7 separate regions of the Homo sapiens genome follow, and regions 2, 3, 4, 5, 6 and 7 are each linked to region 1. The links are contacts of gene promoters, found by promoter capture Hi-C in blood cells and fetal thymus (Javierre and others, 2016). All regions are on one chromosome and are shown on one strand. Each heading gives the region's core, a stretch centred on a gene start or on the middle of the fragment in contact. The rest is flanking DNA. Distances are from core to core; before and after follow the strand shown. Region 1 holds the start of NXPE3 (neurexophilin and PC-esterase domain family member 3). Region 2 has its middle 180 kb from the start of RDUR. Region 3 has its middle 230 kb from the start of RDUR. Region 4 has its middle 190 kb from the start of ZPLD1. Region 5 has its middle 210 kb from the start of ZPLD1. Region 6 has its middle 190 kb from the start of RDUR. Region 7 has its middle 240 kb from the start of ZPLD1.

Region 1 (2,700 bases), core at 139-2,638:
GCTGTATTTCCTCGAGGAAGAAGGAGTATCAGATCATTACTACAATGGTTGAACTAGTTTACAGTCCCACCAACAGTGTAAACGTGTTCCTACTTCTCCACATCCTCTCCACCACCTGTTGTTTCCTGACTTTTTAATGATCGCCATTCTAACTGGTGTGAGATGGTATCTCATTGTGGTTTTGATTTGCATTTCTCTGATGGCCAGTGCTGATGAGCATTTTTTCATGTGTTTGTTGGCTGCATAAATGAACACTTGGACACAGGAAGGGGAACATCACACACCTGGGCATGTTGTGGGGTAGGGGGAGGGGGGAGGGATAGCATTAGGAGATATACTTAATGTAAATGACGAGTTAATGGGTGCAGCATACCAACATGGCACATGTATACATATGTAACAAACCTGCACGTTGTGCACATGTACCCTAGAACTTAAAGTATATTAAAAAAAAAAAAAAGAAGATCATTACTACAGAAGAGATCTTCCACCCTGTGGCAGAACTTCCTTTTATCCCATTCACGGATCTGGTTGCCCACGAAGCAGGCCTGCCATGAAAACATCTGAATGAGCATGCAGAGTCCATTATGGTCAAGAAATGGAAAAATACTTAGTTGTCATGTACATTAATTATTTTTCTTAAACCTTGGGGTAATAGTCCGGGGGCAGGCCTGCTTTTGGGGCCTGTGTTAACCCCACTGTGCTCCAAGCACAGAGAAACACGGTGCAGCCCACAATTCCTTCTGGTTTCTTGAACAAGTGTCTTCTCAGGACTCCTCTCAGTTCCTGAATTTCACAAAACTGCTACCGACGTTTTACCAGTTAGAAAAATGTCCAAAATAGGATAACCCAGAATTGGGGATGGTGGAGGGTGAGGAAAGTATGCTTTGCCAAGAGACCGACATCATGTACAGTGAGAGTAAAAGGAACGGGCTGTTTTACTGGCGAGTAGAAGTTGTTGACTAATGTCAAAGCAAGGAAAAGATTCAAGGATCCGCTATATCCGTGCTTATACTTGGCAAATCGCATTTCTCTGGTTCAGGGCACAATAAATTCCATCACTCCACAGGAAAGACTGCCCTACTAGAGTCAACTGCGGTTGTGGGCACTTTCGCTGACAAGCGAAAAGCCTTGAGGTAGGTGGATGCTCCCAGGAAACTCAGACGTCCGAAGTTCACGAGGAGTTGGGTCGTGAGAGGGGCCAGACCTCGATCCGCGGGGCGACAGCTGCAGTGTCGCGTCGCGAGCAGGAGCTTGGCGGCGTAGAGCGCCAGGGTGCCAACTTCGCTTCCAGGCCTGTGGGTTCCGCCCGGCGCGTGCTGCTGTCAGTCAACGCCCTCGGCCCGCCCCCGCCGAAGCTCCACCAATCGTAGCCGGGGGTCGGAGGTGAGGAGACGTCGCCGGGTGAGGAAGCGGGGGGCTAGCGGCCTGGCGCTGCGGCGACCGACCGGGGCGTCAGGATCCCTGGCCCCCGGAGAGCGAAGGGCGGGCGGGTCCCGGAGGTGAGTGCTGGATGTGGTCTGTGTGCGGACGTCGGGAGGGGCCGCTGCGGGCGGAGCGACCCATTGCCCGGCTCTGCCAGCGCGCTCCTAGACTGCGAAGCCCCTCCCTCCGCGCGCATCTGCTCCCGAGTCCCCAGCCCCGTGCTGATAGGTGCAGCCCCTGGAGTCGTGGCTGTGGGCATAGGTGCCAGGGAGGGGAGGCCCGGGTCGAAGGCATAGGCAGAATTGGAGCCCTGGGTTGCCAAAGCGTCGCAGCTAAGAAGCCGGAGCCCAGGCTAGTACCGGCGGGGCGGGGCGGGGCGGGGCCGGGAGCGAGCATCTCCATCCTCAGTTTCCTCCACTTGCGGCAACGCCACAGCTCGGTACAGTTCGGACCTCCACGCCGCAGCGAAAGACTTCTGTCCTCCAGGCACCTTCACTAACCCGGTGCGGAGCACTTGGCGACGCCTCCCTGCCCATCTCATATCTCTCGGCTCATCGCTGCTCTGGGCACCAGCTGCCTCTTGGCTGGCGCTGCTGTCACACGGTGGACTGTTCTGGCCTTACTGAGCTGCCGTTTGGGGACATCAGATTCAGGTCGTATGGGGAGAAACGAGTGTAACTTTACAAGGTGTGATATGGAGACCCTGGCCTGTTGCCCATTTCTGCCTGATCAAAGGCCACTAGGGTGGTAATAAGAGGGGTTCCGAGGCAGGATTTATGCAGCATTTGTGCAAAATTGTAAATTTTCTTTGCTTTTCATTATTTACATTAAAGGGGGATTGTTGCCACATTTCCTAAAGATAAAGAATCACACTGCTTTGGTGGGCCTCCCCGCTCCTCACTGTGGTTAATTATCATTTGGAACATCAGGATATATTTGAAACTGGCAGGACTCCCAGACCCTGATAATTGTTTGGAGGCAGCAGTATACTATTTCTCCGTAGTGTTTGGGTTCTGCTTTTCTTTGAATTTGTTTAGTATTTTTTTTTCCATGTCTGTTATCCTCACAATCTCTTTGGGGCCAATAGAGTGCTGTTATTTGTTACTGAGAAAGGAAACGAAGGGATAAATCACTGAAGTGGGGTTAGCCTTCCCCATTGCCTGGGAATTGGGTTGTCCTGACCTGACAATTTAAGTTACAATTCAAACATCATTTTGGAAAGGCCATCCTTTTACCAACTGAAACGAATAACAGTCCCTGGCCACTCTATACTAG
Region 2 (2,700 bases), core at 175-2,674, 340 kb after region 1:
ATGTCCATTGATGGCCCTTGTTGAAATAGGCGAGGTGCCCATTACCTCAGTGCTCTCCCTGCCTCATCCATTTATCCTGATAGAGGAAAGCTGCCTAACTAATTCTGGAAAGTCTATAAACTGAGCAGGACCAGACAGAATGAATATTGTTTCCAGTTCCTAATGAGGGTCTCCTCCAAATACGTACTCTAGGAAGGAAGAAGGCATGTGTTTCCAGAGTCTACACAGGTTATGTTCTCTACCATATGTTCTCCCCCTGCCTTGACCTACTCATTCAGATAGACTGAATCAACTGACTCCTTCCAAATGGCACATACAAGGAAAGTTTGTGTTTTCTACCACGCTAAGAATTGAACTAATCAACACCTTTGTGATTTTCCTTTTTACTTGGAGTCCTTAGAGGCTTTGTTCCATGCCAGTCTCTCCTGGCTGCTATGGCCCCGGTGCTCTGGCTTCAAGGCTCAAGACTGGGTGGACTTTCTGGGCTCACTGGCTTCTGGCTCTGCTCTCCCACTGCCACTTCCCAAGCACCCCACTAGGCTCAGCTACCTGTACGGTTGGAGGTGATCTCTGAGCAAGTATGGGTATTGGTCATGCACTGCCTTCCAAAGATGGAAGAACCTCACATATGGGCGACACTACTCTACTCCTCTTTGCTCCCTAAAATTACCTTTGTCTCCTGCTAGGAACTGGGATAAACCATGTTATATATTACTTTCAAGTTTTCCTTTACTTACGCTGTTCCTTCTTACCTTTCATTGATCGGTTAATTCCTAATTATTTTCTAAGACTTGGCTCAGGCATTGTATTCTAAGCATGTGTCCTATTGGGTTAAAAACCCCTCCTCTGTGGCCCAAACAGCACCCCAGAAGTACTTCTGTTTAATTACCTATCATAAAGTACTAAATGATGTGTTTACTTCTCTCTTACTGGACAGTGAGTTCTCCAGTGGCAGGGATTTTATCTTATTTATCTTTTTACTTTCCATGCTTGATGCATATGAGAAAGTCTATGAAAGTCTGATGAGAGACTCCTATTCAATTCAACATTTCAACCTATTGATTCATTAAAAATTTACTGAGGGCCTGCTGTACACCTGAGGGCCTGCATAATCATTAGGACCAGCCTTAATTCAATTCAAATCTGTTCTAGGTCTTGGCTGAATCCGCATTTTTAAGCAAGCACTTCAGGTAATAGGCAAGAGAAACACGATGACCCGAACCATTGCAGCTCACCAGCCTTGCCTTGGATATGTTAACTCTGTAAAAACACCTTTAAGGAATGTCTCCATCTAGAAAATAAAGGGGTTGCATGGCATCAGACATTTCTAAATTGTGTTCCCTGAAGTGTTGCAGGGGTTGGTGAGAGGAATGAGGATGAGAAATTATTGAGTTGACCTTTGTCTGTTTCCCCCTTCCCCTGCTCCCGCTTCTACCAGAGCATCTCCTCTTTTATCTGTTTTATATATTGAAGGTTCTAGATAATATTTCATTTGAAGAGGGATTTGTTGCTTTTAAATAAGTTTTTAAAATTTTGATAAAAATTACGTATTTTCCAAAGGCCTTTCTGCTTCTAGTGTTCTAAGAATTTAAGGGCTTTTTGTGTTCAAAGTACTGTGTGGGGCACAGGGCACAATAGGGCATGTGAAGATGAAGACATTGCCTTTGACCTCCCTGGAACTGACAATTTAGCAGAAGAAACAGACTTGCGTTAATGATATCAGGAAATCTGAATAAAGGTAGTGGAAATAAGGGCGGGGAAGAGAGTACTAAGTGTGAGCTGCCTGTGGGAATCACCCATAAATGCAAGCCTGGTTGTATGGTCCCTATCCAACCCCATCCTAATAGCCTGATTGGTGACTGGGACCTTTCCCAGGTCTTGACACAAGGCCCTTTCTGCTTCCCAATTGACTTTGACACCCCAGTTCTTAGCTTCTTGCTTTGATTTTTATTCCTCCATGGGATGTTTAGTCAGATATATTCCATGTTCTTAGCATGTTCTTTATTAAAAATGTAGATGCCACATGTCTTGGCAATTTTAATTAGAAGTTGGGTACTATAAAGACATAGAATTTGCTCCAATGTCAAGAGCTTCAGAGATGAGAAATAATGACAGCTAAAGAATACCAGATTTATAGATTTTGGTATCCCTGGCCACCCTGCTACCTTAGATGGCTTGATTACTCTGTCTCACCCAGCAGAATTGATTCTCCATGGTTTCAATGTAGGCTCTGCCATTAATCATCTTTGGTCTTTGGGTTGACATTTCACTTCTCTTGGCTTCAGCTTCTTCTATGTACAAATAGGTTATATGTTATTCTATTATATGTTTTCTTTTTGTCATGCATTTATTTAATCTAAATTTCCAATTTTTAAAATATGCAACATAGTCATACACTTTAAAAATCACATTGTTAACATATTTACCATAAGTAACATAGTTACTTGTCTTGTTCTGTTTAAGCTGCTATAACAAATTACCTCAGACTGGGTAATTTATCAACAACAGAAATTTGTTTTCATAGATCTAGAGACTGAGGAATCCAAGATTAAGGGACCAGTAGATGCAGTGTCTGATGTGGGCCCATTCTTCATACATGGTGCCTAACATAGCAGGAGGGACAAACAAGCTCTCCTGGGCCTCTTTTATAAGGGCACTAATCCCATTCATGAGGGAAGAGCCCTCATAACCTAATCACCT
Region 3 (2,700 bases), core at 124-2,623, 390 kb after region 1:
CTGTGGAGCAGCTGCCTGAATTGACAATGGATATCCAACAACCTACACAGAGTTGTGGAACATGTACATGCAATCATTGAAAACCTTAAAAACACCTGGAGAAGGAGCCCTAAAAAGACTGGATATGAATGTTGTGCAAGTAGAATGGGAGATTTTGATTATTGTATTTGGGGAGTAATGGGAAGAACATTGTAGACTTGTAACATACTTAATAAAAGGACAGAAAAATTGATTCACCCCAAAAGTACAAAACAACCATCTCCAAAATTATTCTCATCATTTAATTTCATTTGACAACTTCAGAATGCTTGACGCAATGCTTCAGTTACAGCAGGCATTTCTACAGTGGAATTTTCTGTACAATTATGAAATTAACAATGCTTCCCTCCCTTAATGAGTTCAAGTTCTGGGTAGAGGAAACACATCCATACTCAATAGACATTCATGGCCAACTGAAGATCCCAAATTGTCTTAAAATATATAGTTCAGTGGGAAGAAAGAAATGCTTAATTTCCAAGTATCCTTTAAATTGGAAAATAACATTTTTTTTTTTACTTAAATGAACTATAAGCACTTTGTTCTGAATTCTACAGGAATTGTTTTCTACTAATTAATCTTTAATGTATATGTTTAGTGCCTGTGTTCACATTTTTCAGGATGCTTCTGAGAGTCCTAGAGCCCTGTGAATTTATTACTAAGAAATAACCAAAACAGCCCTCAAAATAGTGGTTTTTATTTTTATTTTAAATCAAATAAAGTGCTCTTTATTAAATGATTTTTAGAATCATTAGTCTCCTTTTTCTTCAAATGTCCATGGTATTCATGTTAATTGAACCAGGTCACTCTTTCTCAATGTTTCTAAAAATTTTCCTCTTAGAGATGAGATGCATGTTTTTCTCAAATGATAGTATGATTTATACTTACAATTACTCACAGAAAATCTGGCTATAGACTCCATTGCCAGATTGTTTATTAATGAGTAGATTTTGAGAAAAGATATTTTATTACCATTTTTATGTCTTAGGGACCTCATCATTGAAGCTAAACTTCTAATCTTCCTTACAACATAAAGATAATTTTACTTATTGGAAGCTTATGTAACCTAAAATTTAGATTTTGACAACTGTCTTGCAGTTTATAAATATTATAATAAAGAAATCTATACCAGGATGGTTTAAACTCTTTAACTTATAAACAATAACTGTGAGAATTCTTGGTATGCTCTAGATGACATTCCAGTTGTTCTTTTATGTTTGTAGATGTAAGTCAAGGATCCCTAAGTTATTCTAAAGTCATGCCCATTGTTCTTTGAGTCTTGGCTTCTGATAATGTCTTGATTTGCTTGAAGTACAGTTGGTTTGTTTATTAACCTCCTTATTGTTAAGATGATTCAATTAAAAATGTCCCAGTCATTTGACAACTTAATCAAATAACTTCAGACAGAGATAACATTATTATGAAAATAACTCAGGGTAATTAAATGTAGAGGGACTGAGTAGCCCCTTCAGATAAAGTCATCGTGGGAGATCTCTGAATAGAGGACATTTCAGCTGGGATCTAAACGTCAAGCATGAGGTGGTCTCTCAAAGAAAAAATGGAAAGAAAAGCATTCCAGGAGGAAGGAAGCAGAAATATAAAGGCCATCAGGTAGGAATAAGCTTTGTTTGCTTGAGGAATGACAAGGAGGCCAGTGAGATGACTAAGGTGGGAGAAGTCGCCAATGCTATATGAAAAGTGGACACGGCCAGATTACACTCAGCCTTGCAAGCTGCGAGGATTATATTATATTATATTATATTATATTATATTATATTATATTATATTATATTATAATTTTAGAGACGGAGTCTCACTCTGTCGCCCAGGCTGGAGTGCAGCGGCGTGATCTCGGCTCACTGCAACCTCCACCTTCCAGGTTCAAGTGATTCTCCTGCCTCAGTCTCCCAAGTAGCTGGGACTACAGGTGCCTGCCACGATGCCCAGCTAATTTTTGTATCTTTAGTAGAGATGGGATTTCACCATGTTGGCAAGGATGGCCTCGATCTCTTGACCTCGTGATTCGCCCACCTCAGCCTCCCAAAGTGCTAGGATTACAATGTGAGCCACTGCGCCTGGCTGGAGTTCTGATTTTATAAGCATGGAATCACATGTCCAAGATATGGTCGAGTGAAAAAACCATGCTTCAAACAGTCTGAATAGAAAGATCCCCTTAATATAAAATTGTATATTCATTTCCATATGTGTCTGTAGGCACGGAGATACATTGGGGCATATGTTCAGAGAAATGCTAACATTGGAAACATCTGAGGGCTGAACTTCAGGTGACAATTATGTTCCTTTTGTATTTTTCTGTACTGTTTGAATTGTTTACCAAAACAACAAAGCCATATCAAATATGCATACATAAAAAATGAGCCACGGTCCTCTTTGACTAAGATTTAATGTTAAGACAATATTGACATTATTGTGGCTTCCAGACTCACACAAGATAGAAAAAAAATGGATTTATAAAGAAAAGTTTGTTGGATTTTATTAATAAATGTAACAGTAAAATAACCTATGCTTTTTGGGGGAGTTTTCAATGATTATGGAAGATACAAAAAGCACCAAAAAACCTAGAGTGCACAGAACATGAACAATCAAGAAAATTCCCTTATTATGTACCAAAATAGAATTCCCCACATATGATTGGTATTTCCC
Region 4 (2,700 bases), core at 79-2,578, 460 kb after region 1:
TGTCATTTCTGTGACTGCTATAGATTATATGAGTTCTGGAACTGGAGACTCCTTGTGGGCCTGATGAAGTAAGCAGTCATGTTGGAGAAGCCAACACTGCAGGGAGCCTTTAGGAATAATGGGAAGCTTCCGGGACCTGGAGGTGACCTCCAATCAATAGCCAGCAAAAAGCCAGGGCCCTACGTATTATAGCTACAAGGAAGCAATTTCTATCAACAACTTCAATGAATTTGGGTGCAGATTTTTACTCATTTGAGCTTCCAGATGAAAATGCAGCCCAGCAGCTTTGTAAAACCCTGAGCAGGGGACCCAGTTAAGCCATGCCTTGACCTAAGGAAACTGTGAGATAATAAATGTTTTGTTTTAAGCTACTGAGATTGTGGTAATTTGGATTCGGCAATAGAAAACAAATGCCAGCAATTTGGGAATTACGGAATAGATGGCAGTAGGAGCTGCCCTGCTCAGGCTTATGGGGGAAAGAGTTCTTGACTGTATGTTTACCTCCATTTTACAGCTGGAACTAATGACGACGAGCAAGCCGAAACTCATTACTCTTGATTCAATGGTTAGTGAAAAAGATGGGAAGAGAATGTATTATTCTGACTTCTGCTGGAATTCCTTCCAACCCTTCCTGGGGCCATTGATTCTCTTGGAATTGAAGTTCATAGCAGGAGACTTTGCTTCATTAATCCTCACAGCAGAGCTCTAAAAGAAGTCTTCTGGAAGCCTTGTTGGGATTCTGTTTTCTTTCAAATAGAGTCACAGAGTCACAGAGAGATCCCACCTAGCTAAAAGTTACAGTAAAGATTTAGGTAAATAGCTGGGCATGGAATGAATAAGATTAATTATGCTTAGCAGTTATTATAATTACATGCAGGCTTTTGAATATACTGCTTAACATTCCTACACTACTTAAAAAATTATCTATAAAGATCAGTCAAAACTCAGCTTTAAAAAAATGTATTTGAAGGATCTATTTTAAATTTATCAATAATATTTAGGTGAAGATTTTAACACATGTAAATGATTTCAAAAATTCTTTGACCTAACCACTTTCCTCATTTCACAGGTAGAGTTATTGAGTGTGGAAAGATTAAGTGAATTTTCCCACATGGTTACACAGCTAATTCTTACTAATCCAGTTTCCAAGATTAGAGTTTCATATTGTTTTCACCTATAAACTCTACAATAGGGATTTATGGAAGATAGTAACAGTGCACTAAGTTCACACTCCTACCTTAAACAGAACCACATATATCTTAAGCATCTCAGACCCATAATTATCTGTTTTTCTAAATAATCCTAAAGGAGGTAATATTCCTTGGTGCTTTAGCTTCAACTTCAATTAATGTCTACTGGCATTTTAAATAATCATCATCCTTATATTCCTTGGTTAGGTATTGGTTATGGTCTGAGGTGTGGTACAGGCCTGTAAATTCTTTTGTTTTGGGTGGGACCAAGGACAAGGGGATTGAGGTTATATCATCTTTGCCTGAGTTGGGGCACCAGGTAGAAATCTGTTGCAGATGACTTGCCCAAGAGCATACAGCTAATTAGTGACAGGCTTAAAACTTGGAAGCTCTTAAATATCACAACTATTATTTGTTTGTTTGTTTTTCTTGATTTTGTATATTTGCTACTGCTACACTGTTTATCTACCACACTCGGTCATTGCCACAACACAATACACACACACATACACATCTTTGCTCTTCTACTAACTTCCTGGAGTTGGTGGTGGTGCTGATAGTCATGGCATACGTCCACAAAAATATTTTGAATGCTCATAATAGCGGCAGTGTGGTTAAGTAGAAGAATCAGGTTTTGACTTACTACAGGGAAACTGAATCTTCTGAGTCTCAGTGTCCTCATCTATAAGCTGAAAGCAAAGAGTTAATAGTGAGAATAGGTGTGGGAGCCTCCTGGGGCAAGGCTGGGATGGTGGGGTCCAGTGTTTATGTTGCTGGGAGTATGGCTACCTTGGAAGTCGCAAGTGCTTTGTATATTCCAAAGTGTTTCTCTCTCTCTCTCTCTCTCTCTATATATATATATATATATAGTGATATATATAGTGATATATAATGATATATATATTTAGTGATATATACAGTGCTATTGTTACTCCATATCAGGCATTATGATGAATGCAAGAGAAATATTGTCAGATATATAGTCCTTGCATTCAATAAAGGTATACTGTAGTTATAATCTCAGGATATAAAGGGTATAACAGGATGGAATATGCTGAGTGGCCAGTGCATGGCAAAGATAAATACCTAGAGAGAAGTGAGATGGCTATGAAATGGACAATTGAGATGACTATGAAGTGGACAATTGGGAAGACTTTGTGGAGAAGTGATGACTTGAGCTGGGTCATGAAGGACATGTAGCAGACAACAAGGCACCATCTTAGGCAGGTGGAATGCATCAAGCAAAGGCATGGAGGTTGCTCAAGGAGTGGCTAATATACAAAAGAGGAAATGTGACAAATATTTACGGAGTAGAATTAAGTCAGAGCAGATATTTACATCAAAGCTTAGAATTTTATTATGCTGGCAACAGGGAACCACAGGTGACTTTTGAGCAGACGTAGTCTGTCCAAAGTGAACAGCTTTGGACAGGTTTAGGAAGCTTACTTTTGCAGGAGTGTAGATTGGTTTCTAGTAGGGAATAAGGCAGGGAGAGCTGCTTATTCTTTTT
Region 5 (2,700 bases), core at 45-2,544, 440 kb after region 1:
GGATCCAGTTTCAGTTTTCTGCATATGACTAGCCAATTTTCCCAGCACCATTTATTAAATAGGGAATCCTTTCCCCGTTGCTTGTTTTGTCAGGTTTGTCAAAGATCAGGTGGTTGTAGATGTGTGGTGTTATTTCTGAGGCCTCTGTTCTGTTCCATTTATCTATATATCTGTTTCGATACAAGTAGAATGCTGTTTTGGTTACTGTAGCCTTGTAGTATAGTTTGAAATGAGGTAGCATGAGGCCTCTGGCTTTGTTCTTTTTGCTTAAGATTGTCTTGGCTATACGAGCTCTTTTTGGGTTCCATATGAAATTTTAAGTAAATTTTTTCTAATTCTGTGAAGAAAGTCAATGGTAGCTTGATGGGAATAGCTTTGAATCTATAAATTACTTTGGGTAGTATGGCCATTTTCACGATATTGATTCGTCCTATCATTGAGCATGGAATGTTTTTTCATTTGTTTGCGTCCTCTCTTATTTTCTTGAGCAGTGGTTTGTAGTTTTCCTTGAAGAGGTCCTTCACATCCCTTGTAAGTTGTATTCCTAAGTATTTTATTCTCTTTGAAGCAATTGTGAATGGCAGTTCGCTCATGATTTGGCTCTCTGCCTATTATTGGTTTTTCCTTTCCATATTTAGTGCTTCCTTAAGGAGCTCTTGTAAGGCAGGCCTGGTGGTGACAAAATCCCCCAGCATTTGCTTGTCTGTAAAGGATTTTATATTTCCTTCGTTTATGAAGCTTAGTTTGGCTGGATTATGAAATTCTGGGTTGAAAATTCTTTACTTTAAGAATGTTGAATGTTGGTTCCCACTCTCTTCTGGCTTGTAGGGTTACTGGAGAGAGATCTGCTGTTAGTCTGATGGGCTTCCGTTTGTAGGTAAACTGACCTTTCTCTCTAGCTACCATTAACATTTTTTCCTTCATTTCAGCTTGGAGAATCTGATGATTATGTGTCTTGGAGTTGCTCTTCTCAAGGAGTATCTTAGTAATGTTGTCTGTATTTCCTGAATTTGAATGTTGGCCTGTCTTTCTAGGTTGGGGAAGTTCTTTTGGATAATATCCTGAAGAGTGTTTTCCAACTTGGTTCCATTCTTCCCGTCACTTTCAGGTATACCAATCAATCATAGGTTTGGTCTTTTCACATAGTCCCCTATTTCTTGGAGAGTTTTTTCATTCCATTTTATTCTTTCTTCTCTAATCTTGTCTTCATGCCTTATTGCAGTAAGTTGATCTTCAATCTCTGATATCCTTTCTTCCATTTGATTGATTCGGCTACTGCTACTTGTGTGTGCTTCACAAGTTCTTGTGCTGTGTTTTTCAGCTCCATCAGGTCGTTTATATTCCTCTCTAAACTTGTGATTCTAGTTAGCAGTTTCCGTAACCTTTTATCAAGGTTCTTCGCTTCCTTGCTTTGGGTTAGAACATGCTCTTTTAGCTCAGAGGAGTTTGCTATTACCCACCTACTGAAGCCTACTTCTGTCAATTTGTCAAACTAATTCTCCATCCAGCTTTGTGCCCTTGCTGGAGAAGAGTTGTTATCATTTGGAGGAGAAGAGGCATTCTGATTTTTGGAATCTTCAGCATTTTTGTTCTGTTTTTTCGTCATCTTTGTGGATTTATCTACCTTTAATCTTTGATGCTGATGACCTTTTGATGAGGTTTTTGTGTGGGCATCTTTTTTGTTGATGTCAATGTTATTGCTTTCTCTTTGTTAGTTTTTCCTTTAACAATCAGGCCCCTCTTTTGCAGGTCTGCTGGAGTTTGCTGGAGGTCCACTCCAGACTCTGTTTGCCTGGGTATCACCAGCAGAGGCTGCAAAACTGCAAAGATTGCTGCCTGCTCCTTCCTCTGGAAGCTTCATCACAGAGGAGGACCTGCCTGATGCCAGCCAGAGCTCTCCTGTATGAGGTGTCTGTCCACTCCTGCTGGAAGGTGTCTCCCAGTCAGGAAGCATAGGGGTCAGTAACCCACTTGAGGAGGCAGTCTATCCCTTAGCAGAGCTTGAGGGCTGTGCTGGGAGATCTGCTGCTGTCTTCAGAGATGGCAAGTAGGAACATTTAAGTCTGCTGAAGCTGCGCCCACAGCCACCCTTCCCCCAGGTGCTCTGTCCCAGGGAGATGGGAGTTTTGTCTATAAGCCCCTGACTGGGGCTGCTGCCTTTCTTTCAGCGATGCTCTGCCCAGTGAGGAGGCATCTAGAGAGGCAGTCTGGCCCAAGCCACTTTGTTGTGCTGAGGTGAGCTCCCCCCAGTCCGAACTTCCTGGCTTCCTTAACACTGTGAGGGGAAAACCACCTACTCAAGCCTCAGTAATGGTGAATGCCTCGCCCCTGACCAAGCTGGATCACCCCAGGTCAACTTCACACTGCTGTGCTGGCAGTGAGAATTTCAAGCCAGTGATTCTTAGCTTGCTGGGCTCCATGGGAGTGGGACCTACCGAGCAAGACCACTTTGCTCCCTGGCTTCAGCCCCCTTTCCAAAGGGGTGAACGGTTCTGTCTCGCTGGAGTTCCAGGCAACACTGGGGTACAAAAAAAAGACTCCTGCAGCTAGCTTGGTGTCTGCCTGAACAGCTGCCCACTTTTGTGCTTGAAACCCAGGGCCCTGGTGGTGTAGTCACCCGAGGGAATCTCCTGGTCTGTTGGTTGCAAAAACCGTGGGAAAAGTGTAGTATCTGGGCCGGTTAGCACAGTCCCTCACAGC
Region 6 (2,700 bases), core at 165-2,664, 360 kb after region 1:
TAGGTATATGTCAAAAGCACTTGCCATGTGCCAGACACTCTAGTAGAGACCTTCTGTACATCATTTCATTTTATAATCAGATAATGAGTTAGGTATTTTCCACATTTTACATATGACTAAACTTAGACTAAGTAACGTATTCAGGGTCACCTAATTTCCAACTTCCTCAGTGGGTGTGGCTCTAAAGCTCGTACAATTTCCGCTATGTTCACTGCTACTCATAGGAACCTGGGAAATGGAGATGAGTAGAAAGACAACCCTGCAAGCTCAGAAATTAATATTGACGTTCCATAGAAGTGCTCCTAAATGGTAATCCGAATTCTGGGCTGCTGCTGGAAAATAGCCTTTTGTCTCGAAAACCCAGTTAGAGCCTTCCACCAATTACATAGGCTTTACGAGATAGGGAGGATGGAGGATAGTAGGATGCTGGACTGAAAAGCACTTTGTGGTGGTCTACCTTGGGACCTCTGGTCAGCAGCTACTGGTTGTTCCTTCTTTTTCCTTCTCCTCCCTCATTTTCCCCATTAGAATGTAAGCTTCTTGAAGGAAAAGGGCTTGTTTATTGCTGTATAACTAGAAAGGATAGTGCCAGGCACATTCAACAATATTTGTTGAAAGAATGAAAAACTGAATGAAAAAGTATTTGGCAGCTCTCTGAAAACCAGCTACTTCTGACACCTAGAAACCCAGGTAATCTATTGTGTATCTGATGTTTATTGATTGCCCTGATCTTACCACTGCCATGTAACAGGAAAATCCTGCCTTCTACTAGGGAGTTGCTGAGACCCCCTAAACAGGCAAAGAACCAAAGACACCATCAGTTTCCTTGCTTCTTAGATTTACAGGGATTACAGGTATTGAGCTCGAGGGCTTGGTCCCCTGTGTGTGTCTAATCTTCAAGACTCGAGCGCCTCCTGATTTCTCAGTGAAAGAGGAAGCACCCCGATGACATCCATCACATCTTTTCCAGGAGCCCTTTTTGTATGATAAGCATTTTGTTCTTGCAGTAAATCTCAAGTTTGTTTCCTCGCTGTGTCTGGCCAATCTCTAGACAAACCTTACTTCTAGCCTTACTTTTCCTGATTGAAACTTCCCCATTCTAAAAACCAAAACCCCAAAACCAAAATCAAACCCATCAACAACAAAATATTGGTGCAGTCATAGTTCTGCACCATTATTAGAAGCATAGAAGCAAAAGTCCTATGGTAGAAGTTTCCTTGACATCTGGTTTTTATTCATTAGGCAGGAGTCCTGACCTGACTTTTGTAAGATTTCTTGTAGATAAACTATTTTTATGGCACTGAGAGAAAACAAATACATATCCTCCATAACTTAAATAAAATAAAAATGTAAACTTCAAATATTCACAGGAAGGAGACGCCCAGTGCATTCTCTAGATCTTGTGTACTTACCTTTCTATAGAATCTTGTAAATACGGAGTCCGGTTTTTGATGTGCCAGGTTTTCTTTCACTATTAAATTGCTTTAGGAGAATTTTGTAAATGGACATAAACAACAGGTATACATACACCTGTTGGTGTAAATGAACAGCGCCTTCTGGAAGGAGGGCTCCTAATGAGTTAGTCCTTGAGCCCTGGGCTGGGATACCCTCTTCCCTGAGGCCAGTCTCCCAGCCAGGGTTGTAAACCAGACCCCAGCACCAAAACCACTGGCTTTGTAAGCAGAGTAGTAAGTTTCCTAATTCCTTCCCAAGAAAAATGTGATGGTCCTCTGGGAGTGGTTTGAAAAGCATTTCTCAGAGTAATTTAGTGGGTGGGAGCTTAGAAGGGAGAGCAATTACTTTGTTGATTGAATGAGGATGTTTGAGGCAACATATACCTGTAACAGTGTAAAGACACGTCAAGGATGTTGATTTTTCTAGGTTGTCAGTGAGTTTGTCTTCATGCTTGAATGAAGTGCGCTGACATGCAGAGAACAGAGTTATATGACTAATTTCAGTTTATTGGTAATGTGAAGGTAGCAATAGGAATGCTTTTATGACATTGCATGATTTCAAGTTGTATTCAATTATCTTTACATATTTAACATTTCTCTCATTAACATGCTCATTCTGTCTGGCTTCTCTCTTTTTCTTTCTTTAGTTTTGCTGTTCATATCAGCACAAAAAATGTATTAATTTTTTTCTACAATAGAAGTAAATTGTTTTACTTTCTCTCTGCACATACTGTGTGACCATAATGTACTTCAAAGAGGGAAACAGAAAAAGGAAATTAATCATAACATCTGTTTGTTTCTAAGGTGCTTATAAATAATGGAATTTCTGTGAATAAAATAAGCTTTAGCTTAAAAATCTAAAAAAATCAATGCTCTTGGAAGATACACCCTGCATACTCTGTGGCTTTGGGTATCTACTGGTCTACCATCACATATTCCCAGAGGTACAAATATCTCACGCTTAAAAATAACTAGAAAGTGTATTTGTTGAATGAATAAATGATAGGAACTTAAGAGGTGGGAGAAAATGTAGAGGTTAGACATACAATTTCTCTATAATTCAGGTATTCCTTCTGTAGTATTCTTGACAGCCATTCTCTCAGCCTTTATTTACAGTGATGGGCAGATTGCTACCTCACAAAGGAGTTCAATGTCTTTTTTGTTATTTATTTATTTATTTTTAACTAGTAGACTATTATTTTTAGAGAAGTTTTGGGTCACAGCAAATCTGAGTGGAAAATACAGA
Region 7 (2,700 bases), core at 147-2,646, 420 kb after region 1:
GAAGTCAGGAACGGATAGGGCTAAATATTTGAATATATGCATCAAAATGCAGAGGTGGTGGGTAAAATAAAATAGAAAGGGAGAGGGGTCTGGCTTCTATATTCAAGGGTTATCAGAAGAGAGTGACTAACGAGGAGATCAGAAGGAACAGCTAGAAATAGATGAAAACCAGGATAAAGGCATGTTGAGAAAGTCAAAGGACGGATGTTTGATTATGGAAGAAGTGGCCAAGGAAGATAAAAGTAAGACAAGACTGGAGGTGGCCTTAGATTTAGCAATGATTGTACCACTTGTTTCTTTTATTAGGGCAGACAAGGGAGCAGTCATAGCAAAAATCAAACTGCTGTAGATTGAAAAATAAAGGAAAGGTAAAATATTCATAATATATGAAGAAAAAAGTCAAATTAAAAATCACATGTCTGGCTGGGTGCAGTGGCCCATGCCTGTAATTCCAGCACTTTGGGAGGTTAAAGTGGGAGGATTGCTTGGGCCCAGGAGTTTGAGACCAGCCTGAGCAACATGGTGAAACTCCACTTCTACAATAAAAATGAAAATGAAAATTAGCCAGATGTGGTGGTTCGCCCCTATAGTCCCACCTACTCTGGAGGCAGATGTGGGAGGATTGCTTGAGCCCCACTGTGATGAGCCATGATAGCAACACTGCCCTCTACCCTGGGCAACAGAGTGAGACCCCATCTCAGAAAAAATCATTTGCCTGTTATAACCCATTGTTATTAAACAATGAAGTTAAAAAAAGAAATATTTACATGGGGGATGGTATTTAAAGCATAATTATTTCTTTTCTAATATCACTTGCTGACTTCTTGTAAAGTCTGGAGGGCTAAGCTTCCCCTAGACTATTATTTTCACTTCTGTGCTGCTTCTACCTGCTTTGGACTTTCAGATCTTGCCTCTGGTGTCCTCTCTGCTCTATACTTGATGGCTGAACTCTGCTTCCGGAGTCTGCTTTTTGGTGCTCTCCAAAGACTGAACAATTACACAGCTCTTGCTCTTCCTGCTTCAGGCTGCTTCAGAAATGTACTCCACCCATCCCACTTGACCCCTGGGACACAGATTCCAGCATAAGAATGTGCCTGTGCCAGCCTGTCCCAGGAGGCAGGTGCACTGCTCTTAGGAGTTATATGATGAAAATATGTATGTTTCTGTGGAAGTATTGCTCATTAGCAAATCAAAGCCCCAGCAAAATTGGTTACTGTAGGAGATAATGTTCCCACAAAATCACTTCCCACTTTTCCATGCTGAGTCACGTCCTGGTTTCATTTTCTCAAGCAGGTAACAACTCCTGTCAATGACACAGAAAATTTTTTTCTTAAATCACTGATTGGAGAGTTTTATACACTTGAAGACAAGTTACGTTTTAAAGCTCAGTCATGGGAGAAGAAGGAAGCCAGGAGTTGATGGGAATAAACGTTTCCACTCACCTCAAACCTTCACAGCACTGCCACTGGTTCATGTGACTTTGGATGAATGCCCAGGCTTTCATTCTGTCATGTGTAAAAGGGAATTGTGATGCCAACCTTACCTGTTGTGAGAAACCCACGTGTTAATGGTTCAAAGGGCTATTAGAGCTGATTGTCCTTAGTAAACCTTCTTCAATTCGACCTCATTTTACTCCCAGAAAGTATCTCACCTTTTTCCTGACAGAGAAGCTCATCCTATGAAAGGGAAATGTTTAAGAAAATATAACCATTTAGTATGAATTGTAATCTCCAACTCAAAATGTTTCTTTACTGTTAGCCTTCCTCTGCTCTTGTGTGATGCTTAGGCCAGCCTGCTGCTACCTTGTCTCGGATTCTGGGAGGTATAATATTTTTGAAAGACTATCCTATGGTTTTTTTTTTTTCCCCATGGCACTTTCTCCTCTTTGTCTCTTACTTGCCTCCATATAAATAACTAGCCCATATGTATTGCCTCAGGAGAGGGAAAAAGCTTTGTTGGGGCTTTTGTTTCTTCATGAGGGCTTAGAACAGGAGTGAGACCAAGACAGAAGCGGCTTGGAAACTAGGGAGGAAAACTTTTCACCCATGGCCTCCCCCACCAGGAAGGATTCCTTGGGCTATCAGAATAAGAAATAAATGAGAAAAGGCAAGGAAGCTTGGGGGGGTTCCTGGAAAAGGTCCTGTGCCAAGCTGGAGGCTTTGACAATAGCTCTAGATAGCTTGGGGGATCTGAGAGGAGAGACAGCCTATACCTCATTTCTCTTCAGAGCAGCTGGTGAGAGAAGGGAAAACAGCTCTGCCATGTGGCTCTAACCAGATGGGATGTTAGACGGCTCCTAGAGTTTCTCACACCGTATTATCATGAGGGAGCAGCAAATGACATCTTTGCAACCAAGAATGGTGGAGAAGGAGTTCCTGAAGGGACCGTGCAGGTGGAAACCAAGGACATTTTTTCAGGTGCCCAGATGGACCAGCCACTGAGGAGGATGTGTGATCTGAGATGGGACAGTAGATGCCAGTGTGAGATGACTCTGAGGTTCAAATGCAAGTGTTCCTTCAATTGCCCACTCCCATCACACACATGTGCACACACACACTAGCCACACACAGGCATGTCAACCACACACACCTTAGTACTAAGTAAGATTGAAGAATTTAGATGAAAATAAAACTTGGAGAGAATTAGGTTACATTTCTACTACCTCAGTGGAATAGGGACTCGAGAAAGAGATTGGTTTCT

Evidence for each region. The method cuts DNA at HindIII sites, captures the fragments that hold promoters and counts their contacts. A CHiCAGO score of 5 or more calls a contact.
Region 2: a contact is called between a fragment that was not itself captured here and the fragment with the promoter of NXPE3 in region 1, in 2 of 17 cell types (naive CD4 T cells and non-activated CD4 T cells). The highest score is 6.6, in naive CD4 T cells.
Region 3: a fragment that was not itself captured here is called in contact with the fragment with the promoter of NXPE3 in region 1 in 1 of 17 cell types (activated CD4 T cells); the score reaches 5.3 in activated CD4 T cells.
Region 4: a fragment that was not itself captured here is called in contact with the fragment with the promoter of NXPE3 in region 1 in 1 of 17 cell types (total B cells); the score reaches 6.5 in total B cells.
Region 5: a contact is called between a fragment that was not itself captured here and the fragment with the promoter of NXPE3 in region 1, in 11 of 17 cell types (naive CD4 T cells, non-activated CD4 T cells, activated CD4 T cells and 8 more). The highest score is 12.2, in naive CD4 T cells.
Region 6: a fragment that was not itself captured here is called in contact with the fragment with the promoter of NXPE3 in region 1 in 1 of 17 cell types (non-activated CD4 T cells); the score reaches 5.3 in non-activated CD4 T cells.
Region 7: a contact is called between a fragment that was not itself captured here and the fragment with the promoter of NXPE3 in region 1, in 5 of 17 cell types (naive CD4 T cells, endothelial precursors, total CD4 T cells and 2 more). The highest score is 7.5, in naive CD4 T cells.

What each region holds. Positions count from the first base shown.
Region 1 is chr3:101,777,823-101,780,522 of GRCh38, forward strand. NXPE3 (neurexophilin and PC-esterase domain family member 3) reads left to right here and starts at 1,389. Exons shown (of 8, transcript NM_145037.4): 1 at 1,389-1,502. RefSeq lists enhancers at 1,203-1,497, 2,062-2,111 and a silencer at 1,302-1,651. The HindIII fragment of the contact is 3,350 bases long and covers 1-2,700 here.
Region 2 is chr3:102,115,587-102,118,286 of GRCh38, forward strand. No RefSeq gene overlaps it. Among named protein-coding and RNA genes, the nearest start is that of RDUR, 180 kb to the left of the region's middle. The HindIII fragment of the contact is 5,490 bases long and covers 1-2,700 here.
Region 3 is chr3:102,171,727-102,174,426 of GRCh38, forward strand. No RefSeq gene overlaps it. Among named protein-coding and RNA genes, the nearest start is that of RDUR, 230 kb to the left of the region's middle. The HindIII fragment of the contact is 566 bases long and covers 1,091-1,656 here.
Region 4 is chr3:102,242,283-102,244,982 of GRCh38, forward strand. No RefSeq gene overlaps it. Among named protein-coding and RNA genes, the nearest start is that of ZPLD1, 190 kb to the right of the region's middle. The HindIII fragment of the contact is 2,409 bases long and covers 125-2,533 here.
Region 5 is chr3:102,220,612-102,223,311 of GRCh38, forward strand. No RefSeq gene overlaps it. Among named protein-coding and RNA genes, the nearest start is that of ZPLD1, 210 kb to the right of the region's middle. The HindIII fragment of the contact is 1,117 bases long and covers 737-1,853 here.
Region 6 is chr3:102,134,490-102,137,189 of GRCh38, forward strand. No RefSeq gene overlaps it. Among named protein-coding and RNA genes, the nearest start is that of RDUR, 190 kb to the left of the region's middle. The HindIII fragment of the contact is 1,760 bases long and covers 535-2,294 here.
Region 7 is chr3:102,194,348-102,197,047 of GRCh38, forward strand. No RefSeq gene overlaps it. Among named protein-coding and RNA genes, the nearest start is that of ZPLD1, 240 kb to the right of the region's middle. RefSeq lists an enhancer at 358-1,557. The HindIII fragment of the contact is 1,104 bases long and covers 845-1,948 here.